Linked DNA regions of Homo sapiens: region 2 is linked to region 1. Evidence: promoter capture Hi-C in human tissues and cell types (Jung and others, 2019). All regions are on one chromosome and are shown on one strand. The core of a region is centred on a gene start or on the middle of the fragment in contact, and the rest is flanking DNA. Distances in the headings are between cores, read along the strand shown.

Region 1 (2,700 bases), core at 128-2,627:
TGTCACCCAGGCTGGAATGCAATGGCGTGATCTCGGCTCACTGCAACCTCTGCCTCCTGGGTTCAAGCGATTCTTGTGCCTCAGCCTCCTGAGTAGCTGGGACTACAGTTGCCCACCACTACGCCCAGCTAATTTTTGTATTTTTAGTAGAAACGGGGTTTCACCATGTTGGTCAGGCTGGTCTCGAACTCCTGACCTTGTGATCCGCCCTCCCTGGCCTCCCAAAGTGCTGGGATTACAGGTGTGAGCCACCGCATCTGGCTGTCAGTATCTAATTTCTTGAGAAACTATAAACTAGACAGAAGTGGTGTTTATCCTCCAATTTCTAACAACATGATTGTTACATGGTGAGCACTCAGTAGAGGGTCAACAAAGCCTGGATTCTACTCCTGGCTCTGTCTTTGAAGCTACCTGTCCTTGGACAGTCATTTCAGCTCTCCAGGCCTCAGTTACCTCACCTGTAAAGTATAACTGGTGATATTAGCTCTGCCTACCTCACTGGGACACTGTAAGGATTAATGGTCATGAGCGTGATTTTTAAATTGCAAAGACGTCTACAAAATAAATTACACAATCATAAGTTATATTCTTAAATATTTGTTGAATTTTAAAATAAAAGTTGTTCAGCACTTAGGTGAAATGCTGAACGACTTCACATAAGTGCTGCACGACCCTTTTCTTTAAAAAACAAAGAGAGAGACTTAAATAACCAGCAGGTATGCAACCTTCAGTTCACAAAGCGGGTCTAGCTTGACTTTTTCATCAGTCCAGAAAGATACTGCTGTTATCCCCATTTTATCAGTGAGAGCAGTGAGGTCCCAAAGAATGTGTGCAAGAACAGAAGCTCTTAGAAGCTCAGGAGGGCCCGGGCGCGGTGGCTCACGCCTGTAATCTCAGAGCTTTGGGAGGCCGAGGCGGGCGGATCACCTGAGGTCGGGAGGTCGGGAGTTCGAGACCAGCTGGGCAACATGGTGAAACCCTGTATCTACTAAAAATACAAAAATTAGCCGGGCGTGGTGGCGCATGCCTGTAATCCCAGCTACTTGGGAGGCTGAGGCAGGAGAATCGCTTGAACCCGGGAGGTGGAGGTTGCAGTGAGCTGAGATACGCGCCATTGCACCCAAGCCTGGGCAACAAGAGTGAAACTCCCTCTCAAAAAAAAAAAGCTCAGGCGTGGGCCACTTCCCAAGGTCTCTACATGTCAACAAGTTAGAAAGGACCAAGCCCCAGGCCTCTGGGGGCGCCTTTGCTCTGGAAACCCCGCCTCCCGGCACGGGAGGGGCCGGACGACGCTTCAATCCCGCCCCGTGACGCGTTAGGCCCTGCCCCCGGGCCATCTTCGTCTCGCGGGATCTCTCGGGAGGACGGACGGGGTCAGGTCCCATCATGGCGGCTGAAGAGGCGGATGTGGATATCGAAGGGGACGTGGTAGCGGCGGCGGGGGCACAGCCAGGGTGAGGCTTAGAGACCGGGTCTCTCTGGGGCGGAGAGGGGAGTGGATTGAAGGAGCGGGCCCTGGGAAAGCTGCAGGTCCGGCAAGGGAAAAGGGAACAGAAGACTGTCCCCTGGGCCAGGGTCTCTTGTTGGCCTGGGAGGCACCTCGCCCGCCGGCTTGTCCCAAGCCCAGCGGGCAGGGCGGTTACCTGGAGCTCAGGTACTCCTGGGTCGCTTTCACCTTTTGCCGGATGCTGTGAGGGCACCGATTTCGCCTACCACATTGCGTTTGATTTACATTTAGATTCCTTCTTCCGTTCCCTCCTTTTCAGGATCTCATCGACAGTAACTAGAACAAGAGCGGCTACGGACGAGACCTGAGGTCAGGGACTCTTGTTCTATGGCTTGCTAGCCGTGTGACCTTGGGCGAGTCGTTTCATCCCTTCTTCCACATGGGGATAGTTGTAAAACTTCCCGAGAAGCAGGTTGACTTAAATGGGCCAGGTTTTAGAGTTGGACAGTTCTGGGTTTTCCTTCTGCATTTGCTCGCCCTACCAGTTAATAGCAATGTGACCTTGGGCAAGACACTTAACTTGTCTGAGCCTCAGACTGCTCATATTTAAACTGGGAGTCATGATATGTAATTGGGAGGATCAAATGAAATGATTATGAGATATGCTTTAGCATACGGTAGGTGCCCTCTGAATGTATTCTTTACCATCCTGTTACCCTCGGGGACAGTACTGTGAGAATCCAGTAAGGGATCACATTTTTTAAAATACCTGTTCCAGCAGAACAAACAGCCCAGTGTGATTTGACACAGAACCTCCTTTGACTCCTTGCTTTCTGAATCAAAAATGAGTCTCCTTTTAGTCATGAAGAGTCCTAGACTAGCCAGGAATCAGAAAGCCTGAGTTCTAAAGTCAGCCAGCTATGTTGTTTATAATTATGTACAATTTCCTTAGAACTGTATTAGCTTGAACCATATGAAATTGCCAATATTTAGACCATTTTTGTTCTATAAAGCGGCAACTTCATGTAGTTCAGCCTAATATTAGGGCCTCTGTGAACAGGGGAGAAGTACTAACCCAGCGCTTGAGGCACTAAGATAGTGTGTTTAGAAGTGTATCATGAACTCTAAAGCCCTATAAAGACGTGAGGGGTGATTAAACTCATATGGTCATTGTCCCTCAAAGCTTTGCAGATGAGTAGGGAGCCCTTAATAACAATACTTGTTGACATTCATTTAGTGTTTAAATCTTGACC
Region 2 (2,700 bases), core at 190-2,689, 490 kb after region 1:
GGAAATATTAATACGGTAAAAAAAAAAAAAAAAACACTATCATGGAGTGGACCAGAGATTGCCCAGGATTGAGGGCTGCCTTTTCCATAGCCATACCCTCAGGCATCTCTGAGGGAGGGAGGTCATTTGACTTGAGACCTGAATGACAAGAAGGAGCTAGCCTTGCAAGGATCTTGGGGAAGAATTTTAGGTAAATGGAATGGCAAAGACAGAGGCCCAGAGTTGCAAAAATATTTGAAGTGTGCAAGGGACACGTAGAAGATTGGGATGATTATAGCCTAGAGAACCAGTAAGAAGATGATAGAAGAGGGGGTCAAAGAAGTCAACCTTACAAAACATGCAGTTTTTATGCTAATGGTTTCAGTAAGGCCTATTTCTGCAGATGTATGGGCAAGGGGAAGACAGCATCTCTGCAAATGCCCTTTGATTCATTGACTTCTCTGATAGAGGCCCTCTGAAACCTGCCCATGCTGAAAATCCTATGCTGGAAGGAAAACCCCATCTCTGACTTTTTACCTCATGCGATTAGATTTTCCAGGATTGCTCACTCACTCTAGGTAGAGGCCAAAGAGCACCATGAGGCCACAGTGGCCTGCCCCAAGAGCAGTTACTTTAGATTTGCTTGTCTGGAAATGGTGATCTTAGTCAAAAGCTTAGCCTTGATCCAACATCAGACATAATCTCATTTGAAAAGAAATGTTGCAAAAATATTGTTTCTACAAGCCTACTGCTTCTGAAAGCTAGCAAGCTTGTAAACAAGAATTGAGAGGAGTAGAGAAACTAATCCATGTGTTTATTCATTATTTAACAAACCCTAATAGCTGTTACTGAGGTCACCCAGGATTTCTATGTTGCTCAATCCAGTGGCCACTTTTCAGAACTCATTTCACCAGATGTCCAAGCACAATTTTATATAGGGGACCACTCCCTCTTTCTTACTTTCTTTTGGCTTTTCTCTGCCACACTCTCCTGGTATGTGCAGCCTCCCTGGTTTATCTTTTTGAATCTCCTTTGTCAGCTTTTAGCTCCAAGTGCAGCCCGTAAGTACTGATATTCCTTCAGGTTTAAGCATAAGTCAGTCAGTGATAAGCAAAAGGTTTGAATAGGGTAATATGTGAGCACACAACAGGGGAACTTTGTTCAAATGGGGCTTCAGTGAGGCGTCTAGTTCAGAGGCTTCATGAAGAAGTTACCCAACTGAAAGAGGAGACAGAATAGTCCAAATAAAGACTTGGAGGCTTTAATGGCAGGGCATGGCATGTAGGATTTTGAGGTCACAGAGCCAGAAGTTTATGACAGGAGGCTGCAGAAAATAAGGGTGGAAAGGCAATCAGGAGCAGGTGGATGAAGATCTTTTTTCCCGTGTAACTATGTTGAGATATTGAAATGTTTTAACCTGGAGGGTGACATGTTTTGCATTTCAGAAGCAGTGTGAAAGATAGAGTTAAGTGGGCACAAGACTCAGGCAGGATTACAATTAAAAGCCCTTTGGAGTAATCCACGTAAGAGATGATATGGCTTGGCCTAAGGTTATGGCAAAGAAACAGAGAAGGGTGGATGGATTCCAGTGGGCAGGCATGGGAAACAAGTAGGAGGTGAAGTCATCAGACATAAATATTGTTGAATGAGGAGTACAGGTACTGAAGTCCCAATTTAGGAAAGCACAAAGTGGTAGACTACAGATCCAGACACTTCTGTAATTCAAGAAAGGAAGTTGGCTTTGTCCAAACTTATATAAGTGATATGGTTTGGCTATGTCCCTACCCAAATCTCACCTTGAATTGTAGTTCCCATAATCCCCAGGTGTTGTGGGAGGGACCCAGTGGGAGGTAATTAAATCATGGTGGTGGTTACCACCATGCTGTTCTCATGGTAGTGAGTGAGTTCTCACATGATCTGGTGGTTTTATAAGGGGCTCTTCCCGGCCTTCGCTCTGCACTTCTTGATGCCACCATATGAAGAAGGATGTGCCTGCCTTCCACTGTGATTGTAGGTTTCCTGAGGTCCCTCCCCTCAGCCATGCTGAACTGTGACTCAGTTCAACCTCTTTCCTTTATAAATTACCCTGTCTCGGGTATGTCTTTATTAGCAGCATAAGAACAGACTAATACAATGACCCTGCCTTTAATCTTAAGACTTAAAATCTCTCTTTATGAAATGTCTGGATTGGAATAGACCTCAAAGATTCTCAAAACCCCTCTTAGAGATGTGGAAACTGAGGCCAACAAAAGAATCAGTTGCCTGAAGCCATATAACTCTTCACTTTCATTCCTTATACCAAATTTGACCTTTGCAAATCAGATCACATTGACCTTTTCGGATTACTGTAGATTCTTCCTTTCTAACATCAAGTCCTTACCTTAAAATACTGATCTGAAAAACACAGCTGCAGTGTTACGTCTATTTTGTTTGTTTCTTTTTTGGAAGTTATTTTAGCTTTTTAAATGGGCTCTAAGAACCAGCATTCTGAGGCAGCAAAATACCAAGTAAGGGTTGAGGTTTTCTTAACTCTGTTGGATCTGGAACACTGATAACTCCACCCCCTCCACCAGCTCTGTTTGTCTTATTTAACTAAAAGTTTTTAACAACCAGCTGATGTGTTCCCAAATGGAACTTGAATCAGAGGAAATTAGAAATCATTCCAATAAAATGTACCCTGGTTCACTCCTTCTGTCTTCATGATGTTTTTCTCCTAATTAG

Evidence for each region. Contacts are between HindIII fragments. The study calls those that stand out against the background at their distance.
Region 2: a fragment that was not itself captured here is called in contact with the fragment with the promoter of MYSM1 in region 1 in 1 of the 25 tissues and cell types used here (lymphoblastoid cells).

What each region holds. Positions count from the first base shown.
Region 1 is chr1:58,698,739-58,701,438 of GRCh38, reverse strand. MYSM1 (Myb like, SWIRM and MPN domains 1) reads left to right here and starts at 1,377. Exons shown (of 20, transcript NM_001085487.3): 1 at 1,377-1,454. The coding sequence starts at 1,387. RefSeq lists enhancers at 1,203-1,612, 1,823-1,882. The HindIII fragment of the contact is 3,101 bases long and covers 736-2,700 here.
Region 2 is chr1:58,212,736-58,215,435 of GRCh38, reverse strand. It overlaps a transcript of DAB1 not described here. Among named protein-coding and RNA genes, the nearest start is that of OMA1, 330 kb to the left of the region's middle. The HindIII fragment of the contact is 4,036 bases long and covers 1-2,700 here.